Regions from separate parts of the Homo sapiens genome. Here all the other regions are linked to region 2. The links are contacts of gene promoters, found by promoter capture Hi-C in human tissues and cell types (Jung and others, 2019). All regions are on one chromosome and are shown on one strand. Each heading gives the region's core, a stretch centred on a gene start or on the middle of the fragment in contact. The rest is flanking DNA. Distances are from core to core; before and after follow the strand shown.

The links. Contacts are between HindIII fragments. The study calls those that stand out against the background at their distance.
Region 1: the fragment with the promoter of CASKIN1 here is called in contact with the fragment with the promoter of ABCA3 in region 2 in 4 of the 25 tissues and cell types used here (heart left ventricle, liver, lymphoblastoid cells and 1 more).
Region 3: a fragment that was not itself captured here is called in contact with the fragment with the promoter of ABCA3 in region 2 in 3 of the 25 tissues and cell types used here (bladder, dorsolateral prefrontal cortex and lymphoblastoid cells).

The regions. Positions count from the first base shown.
Region 1 is chr16:2,195,249-2,198,327 of GRCh38, reverse strand. It overlaps CASKIN1 (CASK interacting protein 1), which reads left to right and starts at 1,723. Exons shown (of 20, transcript NM_020764.4): 1 at 1,723-1,989. The coding sequence starts at 1,896. The HindIII fragment of the contact is 36,898 bases long and covers 1-3,079 here.
Region 2 is chr16:2,339,438-2,342,478 of GRCh38, reverse strand. ABCA3 (ATP binding cassette subfamily A member 3) reads left to right here and starts at 1,751. Exons shown (of 33, transcript NM_001089.3): 1 at 1,751-1,906. It also overlaps the pseudogene ABCA17P. RefSeq lists silencers at 1,441-1,900, 2,071-2,130. The HindIII fragment of the contact is 11,234 bases long and covers 1-3,041 here.
Region 3 is chr16:2,163,788-2,166,746 of GRCh38, reverse strand. It overlaps TRAF7 (TNF receptor associated factor 7), which reads right to left. Exons shown (of 21, transcript NM_032271.3): 2 at 2,746-2,864; 3 at 811-868. The coding sequence starts at 2,826. Among named protein-coding and RNA genes, the nearest start is that of TRAF7, 9.5 kb to the right of the region's middle. RefSeq lists enhancers at 820-1,592, 1,593-2,366, 2,776-2,959. The HindIII fragment of the contact is 6,093 bases long and covers 1-2,959 here.

The sequences.
Region 1 (3,079 bases), core at 474-2,973, 140 kb after region 2:
GAGGTTGAGGTGGGAGGACTGCTTGAGGCCAGGAGTTCGAGACCAGTCTAGGTAACATACTGAGACCTCATCTCTATTAAAAATCAAAAAAAATTAGCCGGGCGCTACTCAGGAGGCTGAGGCGGGAGGACTGCTTGAGCCTGGGATGTTGAGGCTGCAGTGAGCTATGATGGCGTCACTGCACCCCAGCCTGGACGACAGAGCGAGACCCTGTCTCAGAAAAAAGAATGACAAAGTGACCAGCTCATGGTCACAAACCACTAAGAGGGGGAATAGGACACATCCAGAGGTGCGGGTGCAAAGCCCAGACTTACAACCTCAAGACTCTGGGACCCCAGGTGAGCCCCTTGGCTTCTCTGAGCCTCAGTTTCTTCATCTGTAAAATGGGGACAGTGAGTCCAACCTCATCTAGGAGGTGACCAGCACAGTGCCTGACCCAGCGGGTACTCAACTGGTCATTGGAAAGGGCAAGAGGAAAGGCCCTAGCATTTGGGGACCCCTCCCAGGAGTGCTGGAAGACCAAGGGCTGCTACCTGAACCTAACAGGAGACCCCACGGAGGGAACGGGAACGGCCAGCTGCCCACAGGATGCCGGGACCCCGGTGCCTGTCACCTTCCCTGTCCCTGCTGTCTGACCTCCTCTGTCCCCCTGGACCTGCTCAATGGTCTGGGGCCACACAGAGTGGGGTGCCAGGCCATGCCTCATAGAATGGGTGCGACCCTCCCCAAATTCTCCAAACGGCCTTGCCCGCTTGGGTGATGAGGGAAACGGAGCCTGAGTCGGGACTCAGACCCCCACTGATCTGCCTCTAGAATGCTGCAGGCCTGACGGGAGAGGGCCTGAGGCGCAGGGTGGCCCAAGCCTTCAGCCAGGAGCTCAGAGGGTCACAAGTCGGGGCCTCCAGCACCCAGGAAGCAGGACTCGCCTGCCTGGGCTGCAGGCTGGAGAGTGGGCAGACGTGGGCCGGGGGTCGGTTGGTGCCGGCGGGAGGTTCCAGCCCCTGTGGATGGAGATGGAGGCGACCCCCAGTCGGTGCGGGGAGTGGGGAGTTGAGCTCCCTCAGTGGGGGTGGTGGGGGCTACCTTGGGGTCAGGCTTCGGACTGAGGCTGGGGGAAGCTGTGGCGCCCGCATTATTTGCGGAGAGGAGCAGGAGGATGCTTGGGGGTTGGGGGTGCGGGTTCCCTGACACCGAATTCATTATTGGGAGATTCCTCTTCACAATCCCTCGACACCTCCCACGGGAACCCTGGGCCAGGAACGCCTGACAGCCTGGCGGGCCGGCTCCAGGGGCACTGGCGCCCGGGTCTCTCGGCGCCCGGTCCCCGCCCGCCCGCTGCCTCGGAACCGTCCCCCGCGGGTCCCGCAGCCTCTGGAAGCCTCTCTGGGCTCAGCCCCGCGCCGCCGCCGCGTCGGGGCTCCCAGTGCACCCCCGGCGGCCGCGTCCCCAGCCCGGCTAGCAGCCCCAGGCCGCCCGCGTCCGCAGAGGCCTGGCCTGAGCGCGCTGCGCGCACGTGGGGAGGGGGCGTCCCGGGGCGGGCGCGGGGAGGGCGGAGCCACGGGCCCGGGCGCGCGGCCGGCGCGGGCTGACGGAGGTCGGCGGCCCGGGAGCGGACCCCGGCGTCCGGGAGGCGGCGCCAGGTGCCGCGCCCCCGCCCCGCGCCCGCCGCGCGCCCCCGCCCCCGGGCCGCCCCCCGCCCGTGACGCGCTCCCCGCCCCCTCCGCGCCGGGAGCCCGAGCCCAAGCCGGAGCCCGAGGAGGGCGAAGGGGCGGCGGGCGGCGAGGAGGCGGCGGGGGAGGCGGCGGGGGAGGCGGCCGGTGCCGCGGGGCCGCCGCCGCCTCTGAGCCGCGCCGAGCTCACGAGCGCAGCCGCGTCGCTGCGGCCCCGGCCGCGCCATGGGGAAGGAGCAGGAGCTGGTGCAGGCGGTGAAGGCGGAGGACGTAGGGACCGCGCAGAGGCTGCTGCAGAGGCCGCGGCCCGGGAAGGCCAGTGAGTGCCGGGGGCGCGGGGCGCGGGTGGGAGCCCCGGGGGCCCCTCCCCGGCGCGGAGCCCCCCACCCGGCGCCGGGCGGGGAGGGGACGTTGTCGGGTCCCCGGGGGCGGGGCGGGGCCAGCAGCGCCCAGACCCTTGGTCCGTGCCCTCCACCCGCTGCCCCCAGCACTGGAGATGGGGCGGCCCCGAGAGCCGGCCGCCACCGTGAGCCCCGCAGCGGGCACCTGGCGGCACCCGCCTCCCGGGCCGCGGGCGTTCGCATCCCTCTCTCTCTACCTCTGTCCCCCTCCCTTCCCAGGCTGCGGGCTGACAGCTGGAGGTCTCTGCTGGGGCCTTCAAAGGGCGAGGCGGATGCCCCCCCCACCCACCACACGCACCGGGAAGACAGGGAGGGGGCCCCTGCGGCGAGGGGCGACCCGGGAGGTGACAGTCCCTAGCAGACCCCCTCCCGCCCCACGTTTAATAACACGCTTTGCAGGGAAGGTGGGGGCAGGACCACGCTGGGGGTGTGGCTGCCCTGGCATGGCCGGTGGGGTGCCATTTACTGATGGGAGAGCAGAGGCCCAAGGTCGCCCAGCCCAGGGCAGGCTGGACTCCAGGCAGGGCCGGCCTGGGCGCAAGGGCTTGGGGCCCTGCTCAGGCAGGCTCCAGCAGAGCCGGGTCTCCAGCTTCCCTGCTGGGAAAGGAGGCCATGAGGGAGTGGGGGACCACCACTGGCCATCCCCAGCTTGCCCTATGGCCGGCCCCAGGAAAGGGCTGGGAGCTTGGAGCCCTGGTCCCAGCACTCATCCTGGCTCAGCGCGTAGCCTCCCTGGGGGCCGCCGGAGATGGATGGATGGGCGTGTGGACCAGCCGCGTGTGCGGCTGCGCACGTATAGCCGTGTCAGTGTGTCAGGGCACCTGTGCGGGCACGGACAGGGCTCTGCAGGTCGGCACGTGGGGTCTGGGCGTCCTCCCTCCTCCCTCCACCCCCACAGACTGTAAGCCAGAGAGTCCCCCTCCCCTTCCTCCAGGGGGATGCCGAGAACTGGGACTGGCTTCTGGGAGATTGTTGGGGGCACCTAGGAGTCCCAGGAGGACCCCCTCC
Region 2 (3,041 bases), core at 502-3,001:
TTAATTACTATTATTATAATTTCAATTTTAGGGATAGGAAATTGAGACTCAGAAAGATAAAATGACATGTCTACATTAATTGGTGGGTCAAGATCTGAAGCCAGGTCTCTGTGATTCCACTGAACAAATTATTTAGCATGAGCCTCCTCCGCCCCAGGCACTCTAGGACCCTGGATCTAGGCATGAACCTGACGAAGTCCCTTTGCTCGCGGAATGGGCTATCCAGAACATCATCAGAGTGAAAGGTGCTATGTACACAGTAAAATGGGGAACGAGCCGCTCAAACCCTACTCCATCAGGACTCTTGGGGGTGGGCGATTTCCGCCCCCGGCCCGGGGCGTTGCATTAGGTCGGGGCCGTCGGGTCGTGGTGCCGGCGGCTGGCTGGGCGCGGGGCTGGCGGTGCGGGTCGCAGGCGGCTCCCAGCGGCAGGACCGGCAGCAGCCCTCCCTCACCCGGGGCGCCGGGACCACGGACGCACCTCACTGTGGTCCGGCCGCTGGCGGCGCTCGGGGACCCATTGGCCCCGGCCCGCGGCAACTGTCGGCCCCGCGCGGCGCCCGCCCTCATGCTGGAGCCCGGGAGTCCCTCACTCCACCTCTCCCTGCCACGCCAAGGGGGCCCGCCCCTCCCAGGCTCTCCTGCCTGGGGCGACCCAGTCCCACGACCCGGTCCGGCCCAGGGACACCCCGACCCACCTCCCCACTCCCGTCCCGTTAGACCGCGACCCGTCCCTGGGACCGCCTAATGTGACACGCCCGGGACCCTCCCTGCAGGCGACTCCCTGCAGGGCCCCCGCCCTGGACACTCCCTCCAGGTGACCCCGTTCCGCTCGCTCCGTGAGGTGACCCCGACCCTCTCCGGACCACCTCCTCAGGTGACCCCGACCCTCTCCGGACCCTCCCCGACCCTCCCCTCAGGTGAACCCGACCCTCCCCGGACCATCCCGTCGGGTGACCCCAACCATCCCCGAACCCCCCCACCCTCCCCTCAGGTGACCCCGACCCTCTCTGGACCCTCCTCACAGGCGGCCCCGCCCCACCCCGGGACCCTCCCGCCAGGTGACCCCGACAAGGCCGGGCCCTCCTGCCTGAGGTGACTCCTACCCGGCTGGGGACCCCCGAGGCCTCCCTCGCTCCTTAAGTGAGGGCGACTCCGCTCATCCCGGGACACCGCGCCTTCTCCTGTAAACTCGACGCCTGCCCCGACGGCCGAATTCCAGAAGGTTCCTCGCCGCCGCCTCGCCTTCGGTCGCGCCCCAGCGCCCGGCCAGAGGCGGGGAAGCCCTTCCCCCGGTGCCAGGAGTGACGAGGGCCCAAGGAAAGACAGTGCGTGAGGAGAAATGGAGAAACGGCCAAAGTCGAGTTTCCGGGTGTGAAGACTTCCACTGCTGCGAAACGCACGTGCGCAGAGTCATTCCTGTCAGAGGCCACCGCGCCCTCGCTCGGCTACCGCCGCTGCGCGCCCCCTGCTGGACATAGGCGCGGGCACAGAGCAGTGCGCAAGCACGGGCTGCCGCGCGGCCGGGTGCGAACCGCGTACTCGCAGGGTGGCTGACTGCGCACGCGCAAGTCAGAGCGCCCTCTGCCGGGCATGGGCGACATGCAGGGGGCACCGCGCAGGCGCGGGGTTGGGCTGGCCGGAGCGGCCGAGGCGGCCGGGGGTGGACCGGGCACCTGCAGGGGCGGCCGACTGCGCACGCGCCATCCGCGGCGCCCCCTGCAGGAGCCGGAGCGGCCGCTGCGTCCGCCAGTAGCGGGTTGCAGGCGCACCCTCCCCTCCAGGGCGGCCACGCAGCTGTCAGTGCCGCCGCCACTGCGAGGCTGGAGCGGAGCCCGGGTGGCCGAGGGAGGGGACCCCGCGAGAGGGCCGCGCGCCGGCCGCCGCCGCCCCGGCGCCCAGGCTCGGTGAGTGCCGCCGGGACCCGCCGCTCGCGCGCTCGTTCCCGGGGCTTGCGGTCCCCACCCGGGTCCGCCCTTCCCACCCTCGCCGGCCAGCTCGGGCCTCGGGCCCCCCCCAGCTCCGGCCTGGCCTGCGGGCCCCTCCCGCGACCCCGCATCCCCTCCGGCCGCGCCCGCGCCCGCCCCTCCTGCCGCGGCCTCGGCTCCGGGCGCTCCCTGCAGGTGCCGCTCCCTCAGCGTCGGCTCCCATCCGAGCCTTGGGCGTGTCCCGCACTGCGGGCAGTGCCTGAGCCCGCGCCGCGCGGGGAAGCTCGACCCTGCGGAGACTCGGCACGGCCCGGGCCCTCTGTGTGCGCCCAGAAGGTGGATATGTAGCGACCGACAGCCCCGGCCCCGAGGGATGCAGGCGTCCGCCGCGCACTTGCGGAGATGGCGCCGCTTTCCGGCCGCAGGGATGCCGGGCGCGCGGTGGCAAAGCCGCCCGGGTTGGATTCCGCCTGCTCCCACCCTCTGGTTCCGAGGAGCCTCCAAATCCGAATCCAAGGCCCACGGTCCGCGGCGGGCGTTTGCTGCGCCCTCCACTGTGTGGGAACGGGAAAGGGGAGCCGCTAGTCCAGGCGGAGGGGCTTGTGGCAGTCGCCGGAGGCCGCGTTCTCGGCGCCCTCGGTCAGGACGCCTGTGTGCATCGCGTCCGTGTGTCTTGGCTCTGTTCCAAGCCGGCTCCACGCTTCAGAAGGGCCGGGACGGCCTTATGGTCAGGGGCGTGGGGAAGGCGCTTGGTGTCTGTCGCACAGATGAAGCCATGTCCTCAGGGGGTAATTGCCGCTTGTTCTCCGGGTTACGTCCTGGACTGTGCACTCCGGGAAGGCGTCGATTGGATCTTGTTGGGGTTTGTGTTCCTGGAACTCCAGAAATGCCCGCTGAGTGAGTAGCCGAGACCCCGCGACAGCATGGAGCCCAGGCAGGGAGCACGTGGGAGAGGTTCACTCTTCTCCTGGGCATCCCGTCATTTTATTCAGATAGTCTGGGCGCTGCCTTTTGTAAACTTGAAAAGACTAAGACTGTTTTAGAAAGTTTGCCTCATGAGAAATGTAAGAGAAAGGGAAAAATAGATAAAAATGGATGTCATGGGAATCTCCCC
Region 3 (2,959 bases), core at 331-2,830, 180 kb after region 2:
GTCGTGTATCCCGCCCAGTGGTCTTGTGCAGGTGAAGATTTATTGGGCTTGGCTTGCTGGCTCATGCCTGTAATTCCAGCACTTTGGGAGGCCAAGGCAGGAGGATCACGTGAGCCCAGGAATTTGAGACCATCCTGGGCAACATGGTGAGACCTCATCTCTACCAAACATAAAAAAAATTAGCCAGGTGTGGTGGTGCCTGTGGTCCCAGCTACCTGGGAGGCTGAGGTGGCAGGACTGATCCCAGGAGGCACAGGTTGCAGTGAGCCAAGATTGCGCCACTGCATTCCAGCTTGGGTGACAGAGTGACACCCGTCTCAAAAAAACAAACCAGACTTATGGATCTCTTCCACTCTCCCTCCCTTCCTATTAACATGTCACAACTGCAGCACTGTTACTGAAGCCCTAGGGCCAAACTCAAGAGAAGACCTCCGGGCACACGGGACCTTTCGGAGGCTGGCCAGGAGCCTGAGACTGGGGACAAGCTGGGGATCACTGTGACAAGGGACAGGGCTGTGTGGTGGTGCTGGAGATGTCAGGGCAAGCCTCCCTAGAGGGGATGAAGAGGGCAGGGAGAGAGGGCACAGCACAGTCACCGAGGCACAAGGAGCAGGACACCCGACTCCTGTCCAGTGGGGAGGCCCAGGGCTGAGAGGCTGTGAGGACACAGGCTGCGGTGTGAGGCTGCCCGCGCCCAGCACTGGCACCCAACACCAGCTCACCGGGAAGTGTCCCTCAGTCCTTAGCAGGGTGGGCATGGGGGTGCCCCGGTTATTCCCAGCCTGGGCTGGCCTTGGCTTAAGGGCTCACCTTTTGTGATGGTGGTGACGGCTGAAAAGGCGGGTCCGAAGGTCGTTTCCATTCTGGTCTAGAGGGAGGACGGAGGAGACCTGGCCTCATTCCGGGACACAAGGAGGACGTGCACATGTGGAGCCCACTCACATGCCTAACACGCGACCAGGCCAGGCCACGCAGCACTCACACACTTAACCATGCGACCAGGCCACGCCACGCAGCACTCACACGCTTAATCATGCGACCAGGCCGCGCCACGCAGCGCTAACACGCTTAACCATGCGACCAGGCCAGGCCACGCAGCACTCACACGCTTAACCATGCGACCAGGCTGCGCCACACAGCACTCACACGCTTAACCATGCGACCAGGCCAGGCCACGCAGCACTAACACGCTAAACCATGCGACCAGGCCAGGCCACGCAGCACTCACACGTTTAACCATGCGACCAGGCTGCGCCACACAGCACTCACACGCTTAACCATGCGACCAGGCCAGGCCACGCAGCACTAACACGCTTAACCATGCGACCAGGCCAGGCCACGCAGCACTCACACGCTTAACCATGCGACCAGGCCGCGCCACGCAGCACTCACACGCTTAACCATGCGACCAGGCCGCGCCACACAGCACTCACACACTTAACCATGCGACCAGGCCGCGCCACGCAGCACTAACACGCTTAACCATGCGACCAGGCCGCGCCACGTAGCACTAACACGCTTAACCATGCGACCAGGCCAGGCCATGCAGCACTCACACGCTTAACCATGCGACCAGGCCAGGCCACGCAGCACTCACACGCTTCAGCATGCGACCAGGCCAGGCCACGCAGCACTCACACGCTTAACCATGCGACCAGGCCAGGCCATGCAGCACTCACACGCTTCAGCATGCGACCAGGCCAGGCCATGCAGCACTCACACGCTTAACCATGCGACCAGGCCAGGCCACGCAGCACTCACACGCTTAACCATGCGACCAGGCTGCGCCACACAGCACTCACACGCTTAACCATGCGACCAGGCCAGGCCACGCAGCACTAACACGCTTAACCATGCGACCAGGCCAGGCCACGCAGCACTCACACGCTTAACCATGCGACCAGGCTGCGCCACACAGCACTCACACGCTTAACCATGCGACCAGGCCAGGCCACGCAGCACTAACACGCTTAACCATGCGACCAGGCCAGGCCACGCAGCACTCACACGCTTAACCATGCGACCAGGCCGCGCCACGCAGCACTCACACGCTTAACCATGCAACCAGGCCGCGCCACACAGCACTCACACGCTTAACCATGCGACCAGGCCGCGCCACGCAGCACTAACACGCTTAACCATGCGACCAGGCCGCGCCACGTAGCACTAACATGCTTAACCATGCGACCAGGCCAGGCCACGCAGCACTCACACGCTTAACCATGCGACCAGGCCAGGCCACGTAGCACTCACACGCTTAACCATGCGACCAGGCCAGGCCACGCAGCACTAACACGCTTAACCATGCGACCAGGCCAGGCCACGCAGCACTCACACGCTTAACCATGCGACCAGGCCGCACCACGCAGCACTAACACGCTTAACCATGCAACCAGGCCGCGCCACGCAGCACTAACACGCTTTACCATGCGACCAGGCCAGGTCACGCAGCACTCACACGCTTAACCATGCGACCAGGCCGCGCCACGCAGCACTCACACGCTTAACCATGCAACCAGGCCGCGCCACACAGCACTAACACGCCCCAACCACACACGCACGCGTGCGCGCGCGCGCGCGCGCGCGCACACACACACACACACACACCACACCCCCCCCCACCGAGCTCCCCTGAGACCCCAGCTCGGGACGGGACTGCGCTGGGAGCTCTGCAGGCAACACCAGATCCCTGGGGCATGCTGGGGGTCCTGGGGATGTTGGGCTTGCAGAGGGGCACACCCTTACCCCTGTGGTGACGTCTGGGGTGGGAAGATTGCTGGGCCCCCCGGAGAAGCGGTTGTAGCGGGCACTCTTGCCTGAGCTCATGCTCTAGAGAGGCATCTACGGTCCTTGGGAAGCACCTCCTGTGGGTGGAGCACAAATGAGGGGCTTGAGAGATGGAGCCCAGGCCCCTGTGAGTCAGACGGGCTGCTGCAAGTGTGCAGACCTGCTGTGGGGC